4 separate regions of the Homo sapiens genome follow, and regions 1, 3 and 4 are each linked to region 2. The links are contacts of gene promoters, found by promoter capture Hi-C in human tissues and cell types (Jung and others, 2019). All regions are on one chromosome and are shown on one strand. The core of a region is centred on a gene start or on the middle of the fragment in contact, and the rest is flanking DNA. Distances in the headings are between cores, read along the strand shown.

The links. Contacts are between HindIII fragments. The study calls those that stand out against the background at their distance.
Region 1: a fragment that was not itself captured here is called in contact with the fragment with the promoter of FURIN in region 2 in 1 of the 25 tissues and cell types used here (spleen).
Region 3: a fragment that was not itself captured here is called in contact with the fragment with the promoter of FURIN in region 2 in 2 of the 25 tissues and cell types used here (dorsolateral prefrontal cortex and lymphoblastoid cells).
Region 4: a fragment that was not itself captured here is called in contact with the fragment with the promoter of FURIN in region 2 in 1 of the 25 tissues and cell types used here (mesenchymal stem cells).

Annotation. Positions count from the first base shown.
Region 1 is chr15:90,335,766-90,338,596 of GRCh38, forward strand. No RefSeq gene overlaps it. Among named protein-coding and RNA genes, the nearest start is that of ZNF774, 15 kb to the right of the region's middle. The HindIII fragment of the contact is 7,838 bases long and covers 1-2,831 here.
Region 2 is chr15:90,867,289-90,869,989 of GRCh38, forward strand. It overlaps FURIN (furin, paired basic amino acid cleaving enzyme), which reads left to right and starts at 1,300. Exons shown (of 16, transcript NM_002569.4): 1 at 1,300-1,423. RefSeq lists enhancers at 1,832-2,701, 2,274-2,323, 2,391-2,685, 2,424-2,533, 2,471-2,701. The HindIII fragment of the contact is 14,305 bases long and covers 1-2,701 here.
Region 3 is chr15:90,293,659-90,296,358 of GRCh38, forward strand. It overlaps the pseudogene GOLGA2P8 and the pseudogene RN7SL736P. Among named protein-coding and RNA genes, the nearest start is that of NGRN, 29 kb to the left of the region's middle. RefSeq lists enhancers at 1-58, 59-559. The HindIII fragment of the contact is 7,947 bases long and covers 1-2,700 here.
Region 4 is chr15:90,310,452-90,313,369 of GRCh38, forward strand. No RefSeq gene overlaps it. Among named protein-coding and RNA genes, the nearest start is that of ZNF774, 40 kb to the right of the region's middle. The HindIII fragment of the contact is 8,060 bases long and covers 1-2,918 here.

The sequences.
Region 1 (2,831 bases), core at 235-2,734, 530 kb before region 2:
AGATAGTCTGTGAATTATAGAAAGGTATATACAGATCTTTTTTTTTCTTTTTCTTTTTTTTTTTTTTTGAGATGGAGTTTTGGTCTCATTGCCCAGGCTAGAGTGCAATGGCACAATCTTGGCTCACTGCAACCTCCACCTCCCAGGTTCAAGTGATTCTCCTGCCTTGGCCTCCTGAATAGCTGGGATTACAGGCACCCAACACCACACCCAGCTAATTTTTTGTAATTTTAGTAGAAACTGGGTTTCATCACGTTGGCCAGGCTGGTCTCGAACTCCTGACCTCAGGCGATCTACCCACCTTGGCCTCCCAAAGTGCTGGGATTACAGGCGTGAGCCACCGCACCCAGCCAACCTCATTATTTTTAATGGCTACATACTGTTTCATGGCCTTGGAATCATAATTCATTTAGACTGTCTCCTACTGATTGACATTTGGGTTGTTTCTATTTATTATTATTATTATTATTATTTTTAGAGATGGGGGCCTCACTATGTTACTCAAGCTGGAGTGCAGTGGCTATTCACAGGTGACATCATAGTGTACCATAGCCTTGAACTCCTGGGCTCAAGGGACTCTTCCATCACAGCCTTCTGAATAGCTGGGGCTACAGATGTGTGCCACCATGCCTGGCTGTTCCACTCTTTTGTTACTACAAACATTATGACAAACAATGTAATATTATCTTGTATACACAACTTTGTGTACATTCAGAAGTATCTCTAGGATAAATTCTTAGAAGTGGAAATGCTAGGTCAAAGGAGCTATTATCACCATTCATTGTAATTATTATAATTAATCTCTAAGAAGTCAGATGTTGGATCTACTTCCTTCTAAAGGCAAATAGTAGCTGTTATATCTGAGCATAAAGAGATCTTCTATATCAACTGCCTTTTGTGAGTAAAAAATTATTAAGTCCTGATACTGACATCTTGGAAAATTCCAGAATGCTGCTTCTACCTCTCCTCTCTTTTCATACCCCTTCTCTTTTCCCTATTTACATTGGCACATGACCACATTCCCACAAAATGTGTCAGTTGAGTTGGTGTCTTAGCCTGGGTTCCTTAGAAAAGAGAGCCTGAGGCAAAGCTTTATGAGAGTATAGAATCCCAGGGAGGCATGAGTGAAGGGAAAAGGGGAACAAGTCAAACAACGAGGACGAGTCAACATAAGAGCATGCATGATGGTCCTGACCACAACTTAGGCAAGCACAATTGCTTCCTCACTCTTAGAAGAAGCAACTGAGCTCGCATAGGGGAAGCGAGTCTCTGAGAAGCCAGAGTAAGCCACTGCATCTCTCCACACTCTGTGCAGTCACAGGAAGAGGCCCAGGTGGGGAGGGGGTAAGGAAGGGAATACGTTTATCTATAGGCTGCCATCTCCTATTGGTCGAAGTTTGCCCCTCAGGGTGTCAACTCCTTTTAGCTTATGAGTTGAGCCGCCCAACTCCTCCAGCAGCCATGGAGAAAGCCAGAACCCAAGACAGAAGTGTCAGCCTCTATGGCCAAGCATCAACCTGGAGGGTAAGCCACTGTGCATCCATGGGATTTGAGATGGTCCACAGGGTCTCTCATATCAATAGCAACAGGAAACCCACATGGCAGGAGGATAGGAGCAGAGATGCTGGTGCAAGGCCAGGTGCTGTGGTGTCATGCCCTTACGTGACATGAGGAACCTGGAGTAGCTACCACAGAGCAAGTCATTGTTAGAGTTCTGGCCAGAAAGCAAGGCAAGTGCAGGATTTGTAACGGCATGTAAAATGAATCTGGTACAGGGCCAGGTTTGATGGCTCATGCCCATAATCCCAGCACTTTGAGAAGCCGAGGCAGGAGGATCACTTGAGCCCAGGAGTTCGAGACCAGTCTGGGCAACATAGAGAGACCCCTGTCTTTATAAAAAAAAATTTTAAAAATTAGCTGGGTGTGGTGGTGCATATCTGTAGCCCCAGCCACTCTAGGGGCTGAGGTGGGAGGATCATTTGAGCCCCAAACATTGAGGCTGCAGTGAGCCATAATCATGCCTTTGCACTTCAGCCTGGATGACAGGGCAAGACCCTGTCTCAAAATAAATAAATAAATAAATAAAACAGAAAACAACAAAAAAAAACCAGTCTAGTACAGGTGGGAACACTGGCACTTTGCACACTGCACTCATTCTGAGATGTACATTTTATTACCTTTTTTTTGAGTTGGCGTCTCGCTCTGTCACTGAGCCTGGAGTACAGTCATGTGATCTCGTCTCACTGCAACCTCCGCCTCCCTGGTTCAAGGGATTCTCCCCCCTCAGCCTCCTGAATAGCTGGGATTACAGATGCCCGTCACTATGCCCGGCTAATTTTTGTATTTTTAGTAGAGGCAGGGTTTCACCATGTTAGCCAGGCTGGTTTCGAACTCCTGAACTCAGGTGATCCGCCCATCTCGGCCTCCCAAAGTGCTGGGATTACAGGCATGAGCCACCATGCCCAGCCATTTTATTACCTTTTAACATCATTGAAATCAGGATTTATCTCACAATTGACAGAATGTCAGAGTTTAATCGGCAGTTTTGTTCCCTTTCTTGGTGGTACATAAGTGGCCTTCTAGATGAAATAAGGTAATGTATTTAGGCTGATGTGTACCAACGTGTCTCTTGATATCCTTGGCCCAGAAATGTTCTCACAAAAGAGGCACTGCCCATCTTCTATGAGAAAGACCCACAATGAGGAAGAGCAATTGGCAAATTCATAAGCCAGGGATGTTGCATTCCCGTTGTCTATAACAAGCATTCATTACAATTACCATTAATATGACTATTTGTTGCTTATAGATATTGGTGTTGAAATGTTTGCTAA
Region 2 (2,701 bases), core at 50-2,549:
TGTGCTGGCATACTGGGCAGTTTCAAGTTTGGGAGTTTTCTCCCTCACTGCTAGCTGTCTCAGAGCTTAGTTCCCAGCAGACAACTCTTGCTGCCTCGAACCCTGGCACACTAACCACCATCCTGTGACGTTCCCACTCCTCATTCTGCGACAGTGGTTCTTTGCTGGGAGAGATTTTTGTCTCCCAAGGGACATTTGGCAATACCTGGAGATCTTTTTGGTTGTCATCATGGGAGCGGGAATGCTACTAGCAGCTAATGTTTAGTGACTAGGGATGCGACTGAACATCCTGCAATGTAGAGTGCAGTGTCCCCTACAGAGAATTATCCGACCCAAGATGTTGATAATGCCAAGGTTGAGAAACCCTGTTCAGGATGACAAACTGATTGAAAACTCAACAAGGGGACCGGGCGTGGTGGCTCACGCCTAATAATCCCAGCACTTAGGGAGGCCGAGGTGGGTGTATCACTTAAGGTCAGGAGTGCGAGACCAGCCTGGCCAACATGGCAAAACCCCATCTCTACTAAAAATACAAAAAAAAAAAAAAAAAATACGAGTGGCGTAAGCCTGTAATCCCAGCTACTTGGGAGGCTGAAGCATGAGAATCGCCTGAACCCAGAAGGCAGAGGTTGCAGTGAGCTGTGATCAGGCCATTGCATTCCAGCCTGGGCAACAGAGCGAGACTCTTGTCTAGAAAAAAAAAAAACAAACCCATAAAACAAACAAACAAAAAAAACTATGAGGATTGAGTGATTCACATTTCTGAATCGAGAGAGAGAAGGATGGGCAGCAGGCTTGTTGAAGCTGGAAGGCCAGGGAGGTCGCAGACTGAGGAAGACCCTGGTGTGTCCCAGGTACCTCCATGCAACCCTACTAGAGAGGTGGTCTCTGGCTTCCTATGGACAAGCTCTAAGGGACCCAGCTATGGGGCACCAGAGCCCAGCGTTCAGCAGCTGCTCAATGAATGTCTGCCAGGCGAGACTGCACCCAAAGCATTTATTAGGTACATAATTGTGGCAGCACTGGCTGGCCATGGAAGGCAAGGCAGAACACAAGGAGCTGGAGCTGGCGGAAGGAAGTCATTAAGTCAGCCAGTGGCTGGGATGCAGCAAAGCCAGGCAGAAGGTAAGTGCAGACCCACCCCAATAAATGAGGAAAATGAGAAGGGCTGGCTGGCCATGTTAGGATCCAGTTCCAGTGCGACCAGATATGTCACCACCACATCACTTTTAGCTCCTCCCCCCACCCACAGACACCCTGTTTGCCTGTCATATAAAGAAGGTTTTCCCAAAGTGGTTTAGCCAGAACTGGAAGGGCCCCGCCCTGTGAAGGGATAGGAGCCTGACTGTTGCAGCTGCAGTGAGTGGCGGGGAAGCAGCAGCGGCCAGGATGAATCCCAGGTGCTCTGGAGCTGGATGGTGAAGTATGGACATGCTTTATTCGATTTTGCATTGACTTAAAGGTTTAATTATTTTAGGAGTTCTTGTAGACATTCCTGAAAAATGCAGGTAGGCAAAAAGAAGAAAACAAAGATCGCAAATGTGACCCTTTCATTCGGAGAGAACACCAATGGAATTTTGTTGTGCACCCTTCTATGCACGTCTGAATGTTGTGTAGACATTCTGCTTACAACTAGGTGTGGGTGCTGCTGCCGAAGGCTTTATTTGCTGTGCCTGAGGTGGACCAGAGATTTCAGAGAAGACTCCCAGAGCACCCCAAGGAGACAACAGGAGTGCTTGGAGTCAGGATGACTGGGTGGATTTAGGACTATGTGATTCTCAGGAGCCTCTCTGGATTAGCCCCAAATCAAGGATAAAGAGAGGCCTAGCTGGACTCTTCCTCCCAGAGCCCTGCTGGGAAAATGGAGCCCCTTTACAGCCCCCACTTACCCATCAGGCCCTGCTCCTCTCACTCATCTCCAGACTTCTGTCACATGCCCAAGTCCTGCTAACTGCTGTGTAAAACTGGTAAGGTGGGATCCAGAGGACCTTGGGCCCCTAGGGCCCCAGGTCAGGAGACCTGGGCTCCAGGGCCAGTTGAGAGTGATAAAGAGAACAATACCTGCCCACAGGACTTGTTGCAATGAGATAAAGGCAGAAGTCACCAGTTGTGGTCAAATGGGATTTTTTTCCAGAGAAGTCTCACAGAGAGTGGCTTTCAAATTCTTTTTAGCAGCAGAATTGTTGTAAAATACAATCTCATGTGAAACCCTAAAATGTGAGACACTCTGGGTGAAGCAGAGAGAGGTGCTCAACTGCCCAATCCTGTCCTCATTCCTCCCTCTCAGGGAGGCACCTCTGAGAACCCACTTTAAAGAATTTTGCCTTATGCAGATTGAAGAGGCAAGCTGGCTGGAAGAAACTGGGAAGCTCCACTTCCCACCGCCTCTGCCTGGGTGGCAGTCATCTGAGCCTAGGCTAGCCCCTCCCCCTCCAAAGACCCACTGCGGGCTCCCCTGGGGCCAGTCTCCAGGATGGGTGGGGCACCTGAAGCAGCAAGTATTGCTATTTTTCTGGGCTGACCTTTCTTCTAGGCCTGAGGACAAGTGGGTAGGTGGGGCCAGCCCTGTCCCTGTTTCCCCTCAATGGAGTTCTCTTGCTCACAGCCTAAGGAAGAAGCGTGAGTCACTTCCTGCCTCAGTCTGACTGCTGGAGTATTGTTCTCCCAACTGTGGCTGGCGCTACCCAGTGTGGCCCCTACA
Region 3 (2,700 bases), core at 165-2,664, 570 kb before region 2:
GACCCGGCTCATTGGACCAGCTGCAGCAGCAGGAAGCTCAGGGCAAAGCAGTGGCTAAGATGGCCCGCCAAAAGTTGCAGGAGACCCAGGGGAGGGAGTTGCTGAGGACGGGGCCCCAAGAGGGACAACCTGGCAACCTCTGTGCCTTCTCACCCTCTTTCCTGGCATCTCAGGAGCACCTGGAAGCTACCAGCCAGCAGAACCAGCAACTACAGGCCCAGTTGAGCCTCATGGCTCTCCCTGGGGAAGGTACGGGACACCACTCAGAGGAAGAGGAGAGAGCCCCAGGAGGAAAGGGGGACTGTTAGCACTGTAGGATTGAGGAGATGGAAGAGACCTTTAAGACAGCTGGCCATTATGCTGACTGGGTGTCTGCACTAAGTTTGGCATCAATATGGTGACCTCCTGGGAGCGGGGGACCACCAGGTTGCCTAAGGATGGGAGAACTGGCCCAGGTCAGAAATGGAGCAGGTCAGAATTCCTGCACCAATCGGTAGTGGGACTGTGCCTGGGCAATATAGCAAGATCTTGGTTCTTAAAAGTAAAAATAAAGAACAGCTCATTCCCCTCTGGGGAGGGGCTGGCTCAAGGTTACACAGTGAGTGTGGGGGCAGAGGTGAGCCCACAGTACCTCCCTTGTTGGGTTGTCTGAGGACCCCTCTGGCCACCCCCCCACAGGAGATGGAGGAGGAGGCGCCTCAGCCCATGCCGAACATCCCAGGGGACCTGGAGAGCCGGGAGACGGTGGTGAGCCTGACTTGCCCTGCCCCCACTTTGCCACCTTCCTCTGTGGTCCCTCCCAGACCCCCTTATGTTCTTGGTTTCCCCGCTTTCTGATTTCTGTGGACTTTCACTCCTTCCGGGAGCCAGTGATCAGACACCATTTCACCTGTGACCAACAGGTGCACTCTCTGAGGCCCCAAGGGAAGGGGCTGCGCTCCACCTCCCTGCCCCAGTTGTTCTGTGTATGCCCCTACAAGAACACTCACCTCTTGCCTTCAGGTGGCATTTTTCAACTCCGCTGGAACCAGTGCCCAGGAGGAGCAAAGGATGTGCTGCCAGCCCCTGGCTCACCCAGTGGCCTCGTCCCAGAAGAAGCCAGAAGCAGCAGCCCCAGCCCCAGGGACTGGGGGTGAGTCTGTGTGTGGGGGGACCCACCGGGCCCTGCAGGGGGCCAAGGAGAAGTTGTAGATGAGTAGGTCCTGGCATAGGCCAAGAAGGGTGGGGGTGGGGCAAGGCAGGTGGCTCCTGAGACGTGATCCCATTATTTTGGCTCCAGAGCGACTTTATGGACCTCCTGAAGGAGAAGGTGGACCTGAGGGAGTGGGTGGAGAAACTAAAGCTTCAATTCATCCACCTCTCGGGAAAGACAGACACCATGAGTGAGCGGGAGGCCAGGGCACGGCAGGGGGAGCTGCAGGGCCGTCGGAGGGGCTCCAGCATCTGAGCCATGTCCTCCCGCAGGAAAGTACATCACCCCATATGGGAGCCAGGGGACAGTGCCAAAGATGCGGCACCGGGAGGAGGAGGAGATCGTCAGGCTGGCCCAGGACCGGGAGGAGATGAAGGTAGGGTGTGCAACATCTCTGTGGGGGCGGGGGTGGGGGTGAACGTGGGTGCCGGCACCAGTATGGCAGCTGAGCACCCCTCCCTCCAGGTGAACCTGCTGGAGATGCAGGGGCAGGTGTTGCGGCTTGTGAGAGACCACAATGAGGGACATGGCAAGTTCCTGGCCACTGCCCAGAACCCTGCTGATGAGCCCACTCTAGGAGCCCCAGCCCCCCAAGAGCTTGTGTGTGCTGACAAGCAGGATGGCCAGTAGAACCTTCAGGCAGGGTGAGCAGGCAGGAGCAGGGGAGGCTCGCATGGCGCTCCGATCCCCTCCTCCCTCTCTCCGAAGATCTTTGTGAGGTGAGCCTCACTGACAGCGTGGAGCCCGCACCAGGAGAGGCCAGGGAGGGTTCTCCCCACGACAACCCCACTGCACAGCAGATCATGCAGCTGCTTCCTGTAACGCAGGACTCCCCAGGAGCACCCAGGCTTGGGCAGCAATCTCTGCATGCCTTTCTTTTCGAGCTGCCGAGAACAGGGAGATAAACACCACCATCATCTAAGAGCTGGTCAAGAAATTAAAAAAAAAAAAAAGTTAAGGGGTTAATCTCCTACACAATTCATTTACTTCATTTGAATGTTAGAGCCACTCATGTTTATTTGTGTTTCTAATTTATAGTTTAAATTTTATTTGTAAAAAGTTAAAGGAGAGTGGGTCTTTTCCTCATGTTCACTCTGGCATCCTTTAGCATGTTTCTTTTTTAATTTGATAATTGTAGGTCATTAGCATGCATATCAAGTTTGCCCTTATGTGGTGGGTGTTCAAACACACAAAGACCCACTATTTGCACAAAACTATTCTTCCTGGTTTGGGATAGGCTGCCATGCTTTTTTAATGTTATTGCAGCATGTATATTTATTATGGAATTCAGATAAAATTTGCTTATGTTCTGCTATTATGTTTGATCGAATCCTAATCACAGTGAGCTCTTCATCAGCTCAATATGTGGTTTGCCCTGAAGTGCGCGGTCTATTACTTTGTAATATGCCACTGTGAGTACTGACATTTACAGTTGCTTAAAGGCGGAGCACTGGAAACAGCCTTTCCCCCTTTTTCTGTGTATTGGGGATGGGAGTAATAACATTTTG
Region 4 (2,918 bases), core at 379-2,878, 560 kb before region 2:
CTTCGCTCACTGCAACCTTCGCCTCCTGGGTTCAGGCGATTCTCCTGCCTCAGCCTCCCAAGTAGCTGGGACTACAGGCATGCGCCACTGCACCCGGCTAATTTTTGTATTTTTAGTAGAGACGGGGTTTCACCATGTTGGCCAGGCTGGTCTCAAACTCCTGGCCTCGAGTGATCCACTCGCCTCAGCCTCCCAAAGTGCTAGGATTATAGGCGTGAGCCACTGTGCCTGGCCTGTCTTTTGAATAAAGGCTATTTTAACTGAAGTGAGATGATGTCTCATTGTAGTTTTGATTTGCATTTCTATGATAATCAATGATGTCGAGCCCCTTCTCATGTATCTGTTTGCCATTTGTATGTCTTCTTTTGAGAAGTCTCTATTCAGATCTTTTGCCCATTTTTCAGTTAGATTATTAGATCTTTGCTATTAAATTGTTTGAGCTTCTTATATATTCTGTTATTAATTCCTTGTCAGATAGGTAGTTTACAAATATTTTCTCCCATTCTACAGGGTGTCTCTTTAGTTTATTGATTGTCTCCTTTGCTGCACAGAAGCTTTTTAATTTGATGTGATCCCATTTGTCCATTTTTGCTTTGGTTGCCTGCGCTTGTAGGGTATTGCTCAAGAGATCTTTGCCCACTCCAATGTCCTGGAGAGTTTCCCTAATGTTTTTGTTCAGTAGTTTCATAGATTGGGGTCTTATAATTAAGTGTATAATCCATTTTGATTTGATGTTTGTATGTGGTGAGAGAGAAGGGTTTGGTTTCATTCTTCTGTATATGGTTATCCAATTTTCCCACCACCATTTATTGAAGAGACTGTCCTTTCCACAATGTGTATTCTTGGCGCCTTTGTCAAAAATGAGTTCACTGTAGATGTATGGATTTATTTCTGGGTTCTCTATTCTGTTCCATTGGTCTATGTGTCTGTTTTTATGCCAGTAACCATGTCACTTTGGCTACTTAGCTCTCTGGTATAATTTGAAGTCAGGGAATGTGATTACTCTAGTTTTGTTCTTTTTGTTTAGGACAGTTTTGGCTATGGCGGGTCTTTTGTAGTTCCATATACATTTTAGGATTTTTTTTTCTATTTCTGTGAGGAATGTCATCGATATTTTGATACAGATTGCATTGAGTCTGTAGATTGCTTTGGGTAGTATGGATGTTTGAACAATATTGATTCTTCCAATCCATGAACACGGAATATCTTTTCATTTGTGTCCTCTTTAATTTCTTGTATCAGTGTATAGTTTTCATTGTGGAGAACTTTGGCTTCTTTGGTTAATTTCTAAGTATTTTATTTTATTTGTAGCTATTGTAAATGGAATTGCTTTCTTGATTTCTTTTTCAGACTGTTTGCTGTTGACATACAGAAATGCCATTGGTTTTTGTATGTTGATTTTGTATCCTGCAACTTTACTGAATTGATTTATCAGTTCTAATAGTTTTGTGTGTGTGTGTGTGTGTGTGTGTGTGTGTGTGTGTGTGTAGTCTTTAGAGTTTTCCAAAATACGATTATACCATCTGCAAATAAGAATAATTTGACTTCTTCCCTTCCAGTTTGGATGCCCTTTATTTATTTCCCTTGTCTGATTGGTCTAGCTAGAATTTCCTGAACAATGTTGATTAACAGTGGTGAAAGTGGGCATCTTTGTTATGTTCTTGATCTTAGAGAAGAGGCTCTTGGTTTTCCCCCATTCAGTATGAAACTAGCTGTGGGTGTGTTGTATATGGCTTTTATTATGTTGATGTATGTGCCTTCAGTTTTTAAGGGGCTTTCATCCTGAAGGGATGTTGAATTTTATCAAATGCTTTTTCAGCATTCATTGAAATTATCATGTAGTTTTTGTTCTTCATTCTGTTGATATGATGTATCACATTGATTGATTTGGGTATATTGAATTATCCTTGCATCCCTGGGATAAATCCCACTTGGTCATGATGAATGATCTTTTTAATGTGTTGTTGAATTCAATTTGCTAATATTTTGTTGAGAATTTTTGCATCAATATTCATCAGTGATATTAGCCTGTAGTTTTATTTTTTGGATGTATCTTTCGTTTTGGTATCAGGGTAATACTAGCCTTGTAGAATGAGTTGGAAGTATTCCCTCCACCACTATTTTTGGAGTAGTTTGGGTAAGGTTGGTATTAGTTCTCTTTAAATGTTTGGTAAAAGTCAGCAGTGAAACCATCACGTCCCAGGCTTTTCTTTGCTGGGAGACTTTTTATTACAGCTTTGATCTCATTATTTGTTGTTGGTCTGTTCAGGTTTTGCATTTCATCGTTATTCAATCTTGGTAGGCTGGACGTGTTTAGGAATTTATCCATTTTTTTCTAAGTTTTCCAATTTTTTGCATGTAATTCCTTATAATATTGACTGATGATCCTTTGAATTTTTGTGGTATCAATTGTCATGTTTCCTTTTTCATCTCTGATTTTATATATTTGGGTCTTCTCTCTTTTTTTCTTAGTCTTATTTAGGCTAAAAGGTTGTCAAGGTTGTTTATCTTTTCAAAAAACCAACTTCTCATTTCATTGATTTTTTTATTGTTTTCTTCATTTCAATTTCACTTATTTCTGCTCTGGGATCTTTATTCTTTTCTTCTACTAATTTTGGGTTTGGATTGCTCTTGCTTTTCTATTTCTTTAAGATGCACTGTTACGTTGTTTATTTGATGTTTTTCTACTTTTTTTTTTTTTAGACGGAGTTTCGCTCTTGTTGCCCAGGCTGGAGTGCAATGGTGTGATCTCGGCTCACCGCAACCTCTGCCTCCCGGGTTCAAGCGATTCTCCTGCCTCAGCCTCCCAAGTAGCTGGGACTACAGGCATGCGCCACCACGCCCAGCTAATTTTGTATTTTTAGTAGAGACGGAGTTTCTCCATGTTGGTCAGGCTGGTCTCGAACTCCTGAGCTCAG